Linked DNA regions of Homo sapiens: region 1 is linked to region 2. The links are contacts of gene promoters, found by promoter capture Hi-C in human tissues and cell types (Jung and others, 2019). All regions are on one chromosome and are shown on one strand. Each heading gives the region's core, a stretch centred on a gene start or on the middle of the fragment in contact. The rest is flanking DNA. Distances are from core to core; before and after follow the strand shown.

Region 1 (6,450 bases), core at 1-2,500, 290 kb after region 2:
TTTAATAATCCTTTAGTTAAAGCCAAAGTATGGCAATCAGTTTTGTGGAATATTTAATTCTCACACATTTCTCCCACATCCTTGCTTTCTGCGTGAGCAGGGTATCAGCTCTGCAGACACAGTCTGATCTCCAAGGTGGATCAAGAACAGCTGAAGACAGATGAAAGAGGAATTTTACAAGGTGACTGTGCAGGTGAGCCTTGGGCAGAACAGGGTGCAGCCTTGGCCAGTGAGGGTTAGTACATTTGGGAATGTCACTCAGTGAAGGAAAAGAAATCTGAGGCCATGACATGAGCTTCCTTCCTGTTTCACCATCTATTCAATCGTTCATACGTTCATTTGGTCTCCGAGAAAGAAGTTTTAATTCCTCTTTAAATGTAATGTCTCCATGAATGCTTTTTGCCAGATAATACTGTCTTATTTCCCAACCTCCACAATCCTTTCTAACTAAAATACCTCCCATTTCTACTGCTTGTTCCTATCACTGGTGAATCACTGGTTGTGTCTTCTTTCTTACATTTCTCTACTTAGAAGATATTATTTGAAAACAAATCCATAGGGTCTCCCTCCCTTTTTCTTTGATCCCAACCTTTTCTCCCAATAATTATAAAAATTCCTGTGCTATTTCAGACTGGGAAACTCAACTTAAACCAAAAGATACAATTGCTATGCAGAACATTCCTGGGGGAAAAACATCCAATGGCATAAACACGGTAAGACTTACTAGGAAGTATTCCTGGTCTTTGTAGTAGAAGTCTGGGAATCTGAATGAGTTAAAACATCAGCACCCAAAGCAGGGGTAAGAATTCAGGCACCAGGCTTTCACCAGAAAGCTGTCTCGGGAGAGTTTGGAGTTTGATTTTCATGAAATTGGAGAAATCTGTAAACCTAGGTTAACACTTGCTGGCTCACAGAGAATAACCACAAGTAAACATCTATGTAAATATGATTTTAGAGTTAAGTATTTAGTACATAATTCATTCATTCTTCACTCAGTATTAGAAAAACTGTATTAAAGAAGCCCTTTGCTGGGAAGGAATAGAGCCTTGGACAGAGGAGTGAGCTTATTCAACTCGAAAAAGCTAATAGGGCAAAAGTCATACGCACCTACTGAAAATGGTACACATGTCAGTCATGATCATGTGCTTCCTATATATGGCAGAATCCTCATGGAAGAGAATTCCTGTGAATAAGGTGAAAGTGAAAAAGCCTCTAGTCACCACTTACTCCCTTTTCAACAGGCAGAAAATCAACCTGGTGAGCACTCCCTGGAGTGTAACCATTGTGGGAAATTCAGAAAGAACACTCGCTTTATTTGTACAAGATATTGCAAGGGAGAGAAATGCTATAAATATATAAAGTATAGCAAAGTCTTCAACCATCCCTCAACTCTTAGGAGTCATGTGAGCATTCACATTGGAGAGAAAACTCTTGAATTTACTGATTGTAGAAAAGCTTTCAATCAAGAGTCATCCCTCAGGAAACACTTAAGAACTCCCACAGGACAGAAGTTTCAGGAGTATGAGCAATGTGATATGTCCTTCAGCCTACACTCTTCCTGCTCAGTACGTGAGCAAATACCTACTGGAGAGAAAGGTGATGAATGCAGTGACTATGGCAAAATATCTCCCCTTAGTGTCCACACAAAAACTGGTAGTGTGGAGGAGGGTTTGGAATGTAATGAACATGAGAAAACTTTCACTGACCCTTTGTCCCTTCAGAACTGTGTCAGAACTCACTCTGGAGAGATGCCCTATGAATGCAGTGACTGTGGGAAAGCCTTCATTTTTCAGTCTTCCCTTAAGAAACACATGAGATCTCATACTGGAGAGAAGCCTTATGAGTGTGATCACTGTGGAAAATCCTTTAGCCAGAGCTCTCATCTGAATGTGCACAAAAGAACTCACACTGGAGAGAAACCCTATGACTGTAAGGAATGTGGGAAGGCTTTCACTGTTCCTTCATCCCTTCAGAAACATGTGAGAACCCACACTGGAGAGAAACCCTATGAATGCAGTGACTGTGGAAAAGCCTTCATCGATCAGTCATCCCTTAAGAAACACACACGCTCTCACACTGGAGAGAAGCCTTATGAGTGTAACCAGTGTGGAAAGTCCTTCAGCACAGGCTCTTACCTTATTGTGCACAAGAGAACTCACACTGGTGAGAAAACCTATGAGTGTAAAGAATGTGGGAAGGCCTTTAGGAATTCCTCTTGCCTGAGGGTACACGTGAGAACTCACACTGGAGAGAAGCCTTATAAATGTATTCAGTGTGAAAAAGCCTTTAGCACAAGCACTAACCTTATAATGCACAAGCGAATCCACAATGGCCAGAAACTCCATGAATGAAATGACTCAGGGAAGTGTTTGTTGCCCCTCATGCCTCCTTTCTCACTTTAGAACATATATTGGAGAGAAGCCCTGTTATGGTCACCTGGAAACAGCCTTCTGGCCCAACTCTGGATGCCTGTTATACTGGGACAAACCTTATAAATGTTATAGCTATGATTGTTTTTATCAGTGAGTATTTCATTCTTATATGTGTCACAACTGTAGATCCTATGAATATTTTAGTTATCTTTTCAGTTTAATTGCATTGTGAACAGAACACATGGTCTTCAATATGTAGATTCTGTGTGACATAGATTTGAACATAATTGCTGGACACTGACTGATGTACTGTGGCAGACAGAACTAGTTGCTGTCTCAATATCCATTCCTCCCTTCTTTCTTAAAGTAATAAAATTTACCATTTAGTTCAAGCTGGCAATGTGGACAGTTTTCACCCAGCTTCCCTTACAGCTGTGAGCGGCCAAATATGTTCACATCCCTAGCCCATGCAAAGTAGGCAGAAGTCACTGGATACAGCTGCTAAGGAAGCTCATGGAAATGGGAATATCTCATCTGGTGTTTTTTTCTTAACTATTTGCCCTTTGTCTTGTCCCTTATTTCCTAGAAAATATATACACCAAGAGGAGGACAGAGAAAGGATACTAAATGAAACAACAGGGGAGATACAATATTATCTGGTTGCACTAATCCTGTGCTGCTTATCTCTGGATTTCATGTTACATGAGAAAAATTAACTGCCATGTGGTTTAAACCACTCTTGTGGGAAGTTCCTCTTTCAGCTGATTTCAGTCCCAACTGTTACATCTAATAAATGGTCAAGTTTTAGGAATCGTTCAAGTATGGTTGAAAAATTGTGTTTTCTGAGGCAGAAGGATCACTTAAGTCTAGGAGCTTGAAATCAGCTGAGGCAACACAGTGAGACCCCATCTCTACCAAAAAAGGAATAATTAGGTCTTGCTGTGTTGCCCAGGCTGGAGTGCAGTGGTGTGATCTCAGCTCAGTGCAACCTCCGCCTTCTGAGTTCAAGTGATTCTCGTGTCTCATCCTCCCAAGTAGCTGGGATTACAGGCAAATGCCACCACGCCTAGCTACTTTTTTGTATTTTTAGTAGAGGTGGGGTTTCGCCATGTTGGCCAGGCTGGTTTTGAACTCCTGATCTCAAGTGATCTGCCTGTGTTGGCCTCCCAGAGTGCTAGGATTACAAGTGTGAGTCACCGCCCCCAGCCAAATTGTTTTCTTTAAAAATCTCTCTCTCTAGGCCAGGTGCAGTGGTGCATGTCTGGGAGCCCAAGGCGGGCAGATCACTTGAGCTTACCAGTTCAAGACCAAGCCCAGCCAATGAGCCGAAACTCCATCTCTACAAAAAACAAAACAAAAAAAAGTTAGCCAGGTATGGTATTGTGTACCTGTAAGTCCCAGCTACTCAGTAGGCTGAGGTGAGAGGATCACCTGAGCCCAGGAGGCAGAGGTAGCAGTGAGCCGAGGTCATGCCACTGCATTCCTGCCCGGGCCACAGCAAGACCGTGTCTCAGGGAAAAAAAAAAAAAAAAAACTCTCCTTTTTTGGGGGGCACTGTAATTGGGTACATTTAAGTTTACTCATTTTATGTTTCTGGCAAATTGTGCTATTAGTGCCCATACTTTTCCCCTAATAACTAATGTTCATTAATTTACTACAAATGTGAGCTACTGACCTAGAAATACCATTTTCTCAACCTGTAAGGACAACCAGGAGCAACTTACTTTTTCTCAGCGTTACATCAGTTATACTGTTGCTTGCAATAACATCCAGCAGGTATGGTCATCTTTACATCCCACAACTTGTCCTCTCTATTGATGCCTTTATGAGTTCTTTCGTAAGACAGACGTGAATGTTTGTTGGGGAATACACCCAAACATTCAGGCTAACCACCTGAAGTTTCTAGGGGTTCAGTTGTCTGGCGCTTGTCAAGATATTCCCTCTAAGGTGAAAGGAGAATTGCTGCAATTTGTACTACTAATCACAAACAGCACAATGCTTGGTCGGTTTTTTTGGTTTCTGGAGGCACCATATTGACGCAATATGACAACACTTGGAGAATTTAGAAAAATAACACGTTCTCGGCCAGACGCGGTGGCTCACGCCTGTAATTCCAGCACTTTGGGAGGCCAAGGCGGGCGGATCACCTGAGGTTGGGAGTTCGAGACCAGCCTGGCCAACATGGAGAAACCCCATCTCTACCAAAAATACAAAATTAGCTGGGCATGGTGGTACATGCCTGTAACCCCACCTACTTGGGAGGCTGAGGCAGGAGAATCGCTTGAACCCGGGAGGCAGAGGTTGCAGTGAGCCGAGATTGGACCGTTGCACTCCAGCCTGGGCAACAAGAGCGAAACTCCATTTCAAAAAAACAAAAAACAAAAACATTCTGGCAGTATATGAGGGCAGGATAACAAACTCAGACAAGGACAGAATGAAGCCTGAAAACCTTCAAAAATAATTTATGAAATAGAAGGAAACTGGGTTTTTTTTTTTTTTCGTTTTTTTTTTTGAGATGCAGTCTCGCTCTGTTGCCAGGCTGGAGTGCAGTGGCGCAATCTCAGCTCATTGCAAACCTTCGCCTCCTGGGTTCAAGTGATTCTCCTGCCTCAGCCTCCGGAGTAGCTGGGACTACAGGCAAGGGCCACCACACCCAGCTAGTTAGAGATGGGGTTTCACCATGTTGTCCAGGATGGTCTGGATCTCTTGACCTCGTGATCTGCCCACCTCAGCCTCCCAGAGTGCTGGGATTACAGGTGTGAGCCACCATGCCTGGCCGGAACTGGGTATTTTTTAAAAAGAAACCATCATATCGCATTTAAATTTATCCAGAAATGCAAAGTTGGTTTTACATTAGAAAAATCAATAAATACAATTCACTTTTAAAATAGGCTTATTACTCATTCACTCATACTAATAATTACTAGGCACCTAGAATGAATGAGGCAGTGTTCAAAGCATTTAATGCATTATTGAAAAAATAGGATAATCTCAGTAGATAAAGAAAAAGCCATAAAGAGGTATTACTGAGAAAAATCTTTGAAAATATGATAAACATTGTATAAAAAAATGCAAAAGTAAACAATAAATGAATGGTGGAAAATAGAAAATGAGTTTAAAATCAGGAAGATGACAATGGTATCCACTACTTAGTATTTTACTGGAATCTTAAGTGAGGCAGGCTAGGAAAAGATATTTAAAAACCTAAGGACCAGAAAGGTAGAAGTAAATCTGTCATTATTTATAATATGATTACCTAAATGGAAAATTTCAAAGGATCTATATTTAAATTAATGAAAATGTTTACTATCTTAATAAAGATAAACTTGCAACTTATACTCAGGAATAGAAATAATAAAATTTAAAAGTCAATACCATTTATAAGAGCAACAATGGTATAACATATGGAAGAATAAATTTTAAACTTACCAAAATTGTGGAAGAATAAATTTTAAACTTACCAAATTGTTTTGAAGACAGTATTGAAAACATTAAAGATGACGTAAACAAATTTGAGACATTCATTGAAAGGTCAAATTCTGAAAAGACTCACTTCTCCCAAACTGATTTAGATTCAAAAAGTTCCAAATACAGCTCCACTTCCAGATTGGCTGCAGACATTTACAGGAACCCACATGAATAAACAGTGAACTAACATCTTCAAAGACCCTGGAAATCTGTGGACAAAAAAAGGAGTGAAAGAATTAAATGCCAGAGGATGAGCTCCTCCTAGAAGAGCAGAAATCAGTGGCTGGTTTCTTCCCTGAAGGCATTTTCCTGGTCTAGGAGCAGATTGGCGGAGAGCCAGGCCTGCCACAGGCAGAGGAACTTTACTGGAATATGGAGAGACCAGGGGGCATTAATGGTCACAAGGCTAGTGTGACACTATAATATAAAATAGACTCTCTTTACCAGTGCTGCGTATCCCTATAATGATTTGCTGAGTGTGTAGCAACAGCTGGTGCTGGGCACTAACCAGGAAAAAATGGATATCCCTATTGTAGTGCTTAGATTCCACAGTCCTGTTAGAGGGAGTGGTCTGAAATAGTCATAGGAAAGATCTTACTCAAGATGTTTG
Region 2 (6,797 bases), core at 1,515-4,014:
ACCCAGCAAGTGCTTGTAAGCCAAAAATAACCACCCCCATCCATCTGAAGGGACCCCTCCTCTTGGCCAAAGGCATTCTAAAGTTAACCTGAAAAGCTGCTTCAGGACTGTGTGTGGTGGCTCATGCCTGTAAACCCAGCACTATGGTAGATGGGCGAATCACTAGAGGCCAGGAGTTCAAGACCAGACTCTCCAACATAGTGAAATCCTGTCTCTACTAAAAATACAAAAACATTAGCTGCGCGTGGTGGCATACACAGGTAATCCTAGCTACCTAGGAGGCTGAGGCACGTGAATTGCTTGAACCCAGGAGGCAGAGGTTGCAGTGAGCCAAGATCGTGCCATTGCACTCCAGCCTGGGCGACAAGAGTGAAACTCCGTCTCAAAGAAAAAAAAATGTTAAAAGAAGTAATTTATAGAGAAGAATATAATAGAGGTCAGAAACTCAGATCTACGTAAATAAAGGAAAAGCATTAAAGAAGTAATAGGTAAAAGAGAAACAAGAGCTTTTGGCTGGGTGTGGTGGCTGACACCTGTAATTCCAGCACTTCAGAATTTTTATCATGAAAGGTTTTTATTTCATGAGTGTTTATTGAGTGAGCACATTACCCCATAATCTGGGCATTGCCTCATAAAACCAAATTTCTAAAAATTTAGGAGGCTGAGGCAGAAGAATCCCTTGGGGCCAAGAGTTTGAGACCAGCCTAGGAAACCTAGCGAGACCCCATCTCTATAAAACATTAAAAATTTTTTAAAAATTAGCCAGGATTGATGGCACACACCTGTAGTCCCAGTTACTCAGGAGGCTGAAGAGGGAGGATTATGTAAGCCCAGGAATTGGAGGCTGCAGTGGGTTATGACCAGACCACTGCACTCTACCCTGGGTGACAGAATGACACCCTGTTCAAAAATAAGAAAGGAAAACAGAAAAACCTATAGATTAAAAGGACTTAAAACAGTAATCAACCAACTGCAATCTATGGACATTATATGAATTCTGATGTAAAAAACTAAAAATATATGAGGCAATTTGGGTAATTTGAATAATAATTGGGTATTTGAAAATGTTATATAATTATTATTAATATTTTGAATCAAAATAATTGCTAGGCGCAGTGGCTCACATCGGTAATCCCAGCACTTTGGGAGGCTGAGGTGGGTGGATCGCTTGAGGTCAGGAGTCCAAGACTAGCCTGGCCAACATGGTGAAATCCTGTCTCTACTAAAAATACAACTTGGGAGCCTCCCTACTCAGGAGGCTGAGGCAGGAGAATCGCTTGAACCCGGGAGGCGGAGGTTGCGGTGAGCCAAGATTGCACCACTCTACTCCAGCCTGGATCACAGAGCGAGACTCCATCTCAAAATAATAATAATAATAATGGTATTGTGGTTATGCTTTCAAAAAGAGCTTTTTGTTTTTTGAAGACATACCAAAATCATTATACATATGGAATTTGCTCTGAAATTATCTCTGGGAAGAGAGAGGTCAAAGTAGGTAGGACACAGATTCAACAGAGGCTTGACTTGGTAGGTGTGGAAGCTGAGTGATTGGGCACACAGGATTTCATTATATGAAGCTGAGGCATACCAAAAAAAAAAATGCCAGTTTTGTTGATCAAAAATGGTAGAATATTGACAATTGCATATGGCTCAACCTAGTATTTTGCTCTTTACATAGCTAAAGGCTTTGAAAAACTGAGCCTTCATGTATCCATCAGTTTCATGAGTGTTTACTGAGTAGACACAACCCAATAATCTGGGCATGACCTTATAAAACCAAATTCCTGAAAATTCCCAGTAATGCCACCATGGTCCCAATACTCAGTGAGAATCTGGCTGCAGACTTAGTCAGCCAACCACTCTCTCCATGTACATCCATTAGGGTAGGCTCTAGTTTCTCCTTTTGCAGAACTGAATGAAAGCCATGATCCCTTTATAGAGAGTTGTTCTGTTGAGGTTGAGTGATGAAAGCAGGCAGCCCTGGGTCTTGGTGACAGATCACTGGGTGGACGTGGGAAAATGTTTGGAGTGTTTCTTAGTTCTTTTCTTTTTTTTTTTTTTTTTTTTTTTGAGATGGAGTTTCGCTCTTGTTGCCCAGGCTGGAGTACAATGGTGCAATCTCGGCTCACCACAACCTCTGCCTCCTGGGTTCAAGCGATTCTTCTGCCTCAGCCTCCTGAGTAGCTGGGACTACAGGTGTGCACCACCATGCCAACTAATTTTTGTATTTTTAGTAGAGACAGTGTTTCACCATGTTGGCCAGGATTGTCTCAATCTCTTGACCTCATGATCCACCCGCCTCAGCCTCCCAAAGTGCTGGGATTACAGGCGTGAGCCATCACACCCGGCCATTTCTTAATTCTTTAAGTGATGAGGAACATTGGCTTCCAATAAGAATGGAACCTTCTGATATAAGAAGCCCTGGGCATTGGAAAGACTGAGTTTAGAAGACAGGGAGAGTTTGTTCCTGGAAGAGAGGGTGCAGAGAAAGTTAGGAATCATGCAACTTACCCCTAAGTTGCCTCATGAAGACATAAAATGCTTCTTACTGCCACGTCCCAGCCCCCATAGGAAACAGAACTATTCAGGGACTAGAGATGAAATTGGACAATTTGTGTAACAAGGAGCTTGGGGAATTGACTTCTTATTGGCCCAGAAATTGTAAATATTCCCTCGGTTCCTACAACTTATCCCCCACCCTAGCTTTTCTTCTTTGGACCAGGAGGACAACTTCCCAGTATTTCTATGTAGCATCTGCTGGCCCAAACATCTAACTTCATCATCTAGTACCTGCTGGGAGGACACTGAGCCAGTTTAACTCATGCCTGGGTGATGGTGTCAAGAAGAGGAAAGATAGCCCAGTGAGTGAGCTGAGAGAGAGAGAGAGAGAGAGAGACTGAACGAATGTTGGTAAAATTAATGAAGCCAAGCTCAATGATCTCAGATACACTGGAAGATTCTTTTTTATTATTTATTGATTTACTGATTTATTTATTTTAGAGACAGAACCTTGCTCTGTTATTCAGGCTGGAGTGCAGTGGCACAATCACAGCTCACTGCAGCTTCTACCTCCTGGGCTTAAGCAATCCTCCTGCCTCAGCCTCTAGAGTAGCTGGAACTACAGGCATGTGCCACCACACCCAGCTGATTTTTTGAACATTTTTCCCCCACCGAGATGGAGTTTTGCTCTTGTTGCCCAGGCTGGAGTGCAATGGCACGATCTTGGCTCACTGCAACCTCTGACTCCCAGGTTCGAGCAATTCTCCTACCTCAGCCTCCCGAGTAGCTGGGATTACAGGCATACACCACCATGCCTTGTGAATTTTGTATTTTTAGTAGAGACAAGGTTTCACCATGTTGGTCAGGCTGATCTCGAACACCTGACCTCAGGTGATCACCCGCCTCAGCCTCCGAAAGTACTGGAATTCACTGTGCTCGGCCGACACTGGAAGATTCTGTCTGGTCAATCAGCACCCACTTGTCAGCCCAGAATCCAATGGCTCTTCTTACCAAACTAGCTCAGCCTGGTTTAGTTGTGATGCTACCAGTCCTTTACCTAAAAACCATGATTATTTGTAGCACTGTTTTTCTTCGTAACTAGACTTTTTTTTTGAAATGGAGTCTTACTCTGTCACCCAGGCTGCAGTGCAGTGGCATGATCTTGGCTCACTGCAACCTCCATCTCTCAGGTTCAAGAGATTCTCCTGCCTCAGCCTCCCAAGTAGCTGGAATTACAGATGCCCGCCACCACACCCAGCTAATTTTTGTATTTTTAGTGGAGCTGGGGTTTCACCATAATGGCCACGCTGGTCTCCAACTCTTGACCTCAGGTGATCCACCCGCCTCAGCCTCCCAAAGTTCTGGTATTACAAGCATGAGCCACTGCGCCCAGCCTGGACTTTCTTTTCCAAGCCCACTTGAGTGCCTGAAGGAACAGATGGCTTCCTCCTCAGTACTTCTGTAGGCAGAAGTTTGTGTTATTCCCCATGTTGGGTCTTGGAAGCCCTTGGAGATTCCCAAGTATTCCAGGCTGAGAGATCTTAGACACAGAGTGCAGAGGTCCAGATAGGATAGGACTGGTGCTTCCTTGGAGAGAGGCTCATCAAGAAGCTTAAGGGATGAATCTTCGGGTTCCTGATACTTAAATTTTTCCCAAGAGCTGTGGAAGAATGAGGAGTGACAGAGTAATTCAGTGAAAGCTTAGGTGTCAGGGCAGGAGGATGTCTGAGATCAGTTCCTTGATTCCATTAGTAGTTTAATCACAGAGCATTCACTGGCTTCCTTGAGATGGAAAAATACTCTGACTCGGCCAGGCACGGTGGCTCACACCTGTAATCCCAGCACTTTGGAAGGCCGAGGCGGGCGGATCACCTGTGGTCAGGAGTTCAAGACCAGCCTGGCCAGCATGGTGAAACCCCATCTCTAGTAAACATACAAAAAAATTAGCCAGGTGTGGTGGTGGGTGCCTGTAATCCCAGCTACTCGGGAGGCTGAGGCCAGAGAACCATTTATATCCGGGAGGCAGAGGTTGCAGTGAGCTGAGATTGCACCATTGCACTCCTGCCTGAGCAACAAGAGCGAAACTCTGTCTCAAAAAAAAAAAAAATACTCTGACTCCTTTTAAAATGTTTTAATTGTATATATTTATGAGGTACATAGTAATGTTTCCATATATGTAATGTATAGTGATCAGATCTGGGTAATTAGCACATCTATTATCACAAACATTTATCATTTCTCTGTGTTGGGAACACTCAATATCCTCCTTCTAGCTGTTTAGCTATATAGCATATTATTGTTAACTGTATTCATCCTACAGGGATATAGAACACTAGAACTTATTCTTCCAATTTGCCTGTAGTTCTGTATGCTGTAACAAATCTCTTCCTATCTGCCCCCTCCCTCTACCCTTCCCAGACTCTAGTATCCTCTGTTCTTTTTACTTCTATGAAATCATTTTTTTTCTTTTAGCTTTCACATGTGAGTGAGAACATGCAGTGTTTAACTTTCTGTTCCTGGCTTATTTCATTTATAATATGCTCCAATTCTTTCCATGTTGCTGTAAATGACAAGATCTCCTTCATTTTTATGGCTGAATAGTTTTCCATTGTGTATTTCTACCACATTTTTTTTTTTTTTTTTTTGAGACAGAGTTTCGCTCTTGTCACCCCGGCTGGAGTGCAATGGCACAATCTCAGCTCACTGCAACCTCCGCCTCCTGGGTTCAAGCGATTCTCCTGCCTCAGCCTCCCAAGTAGCCAGGATTACAGGGGCCCACCACTACGCCCGGATAATTTTTTGTATTTTTAGTAGAGACGGGGTTTCACCATGTCGGCCAGGCTGGTCTCGAACTCCTGACCTCAGGCAATCCGCCTGTCTCAGCCTCCCAAAGTGCTGGGATTACAGGTGTGAGCCACTGTGCCCTGCCTAAAGCCAACACATTTTCCAAAAATCCCTGGCTGCCTCAACAGTTTTCGGAGTGCTCTTACAATCCTCAGGGGTGCTGTGTGTGGGGTGTGATTCTCTATTAATCCAAGCTCCTCATAATCTGATAAATGCTGCCTGGAGTTCATCTCCCTCACTAAACTGTGAATTCATGAATCCATGCGTGCTTCATGAATTACAGAGATTAAGAGTACATGCTCTAGATTTAGAATGCTTGGGCTAATCCAGCCACCTGCTCTCAGTTAAACCCCATTTGATTGTATTAATCTTCTGTGCTTCCATTTCTTCCTGCATGAAATAGCACTAACATTATTCTGTTGTCGTGAGTAGCAAATTAGCAGAGACCTTCGATCAGTGCCTGGCAATACAGGATAACCATCACTGATTCATGCGTATATGGAACAATTATGTTTATGTCTTCTGTATCCCAGACAAGATGCTGGTCACAAAAATGAACAAAGACAAACAATTCCTGATTTCAAATGTCTTGAGGACAGGGTCTGTGTATTTTCATATATTTGTCCCCACAACTCAGGCCAGATCCTGTCACTATATATTGCAATTACCAATAATTTTTTACAAAATGAATGAACGAATGCGTGAGTGAATAAAAGTGACATCTGCAAGGTGTTCATTAGAAATCACAAAAATAAAAAATAAAAATATAAAAGTAACATGATCAGAACTGTAATGCAGGAAGATTAATTTAGTGACTTCAGGATTGTTTCTTTTTTTTGAGATGGAGTTTCGCTCTTGCTGCCCAGGCAGGAGTGCAGTGGCGCAATCGGGGCTCACTGCAACCTCTGCCTCAGCCTCCTGAGTAGCTGGGTTTACAGGCATGCGCCACCATGCCCGGCTAATTTTGTATTTTTAGTAGAGACGGGTTTTCTCCATGTTGGTCAGGCTAGACTTGAACTCCCGACCTCAGGTGATCCGCCTGCCTCGGCCTCCCAAAGTGCTAGGATGACAGGCATGAGCCACCGCGCCCGGCCGACTTCAGGATTGTTTCAAAGGAAGATAATTGGATGCATGAGGCTAGCTTAAGATTAGTGAACTTGGCAACTCAGAAGTAATAAGAGCCTTTCATTTAGGGTGTCTGGAAAGAGGAGATGACTGGAAATGACTATAAAAATAAAAAGTTCAGGACGGGCGCGGTGGCTCATGCCTGTAATCCCAGCACTTTGAGAGGCCAAGGCGGGCAGATCACGAGGTCAGGAGATCAAGACCATCCTGGCTAACATGGTGAAACCCCGTCTCTACTAAAAAGTACAAAAAATTAGCCAGGCGTGGTGGTGGGCGCCTGTAGTCCCAGCTACTCGGGAGTCTGAGGCAGGAGAATGGCGTGAACCTGG

Evidence for each region. Contacts are between HindIII fragments. The study calls those that stand out against the background at their distance.
Region 1: a contact is called between a fragment that was not itself captured here and the fragment with the promoter of OR1M1 in region 2, in 2 of the 25 tissues and cell types used here (H1 embryonic stem cells and neural progenitor cells).

Annotation. Positions count from the first base shown.
Region 1 is chr19:9,379,427-9,385,876 of GRCh38, forward strand. It overlaps ZNF559-ZNF177 (ZNF559-ZNF177 readthrough), which reads left to right. Exons shown (of 13, transcript NM_001384659.1): 11 at 101-193; 12 at 631-713; 13 at 1,242-3,191. The coding sequence ends at 2,351. It overlaps ZNF177 (zinc finger protein 177), which reads left to right. Exons shown (of 8, transcript NM_001172651.2): 6 at 101-193; 7 at 631-713; 8 at 1,242-3,191. The coding sequence ends at 2,351. LOC112268250 (a long non-coding RNA gene) reads right to left here. Exons shown (of 3, transcript XR_002958434.2): 3 at 5,314-6,049. Among named protein-coding and RNA genes, the nearest start is that of ZNF177, 20 kb to the left of the region's middle. The HindIII fragment of the contact is 6,564 bases long and covers 1-4,532 here.
Region 2 is chr19:9,084,297-9,091,093 of GRCh38, forward strand. OR1M1 (olfactory receptor family 1 subfamily M member 1) reads left to right here and starts at 2,765. Exons shown (of 2, transcript NM_001004456.2): 1 at 2,765-2,861. The HindIII fragment of the contact is 13,481 bases long and covers 1-6,797 here.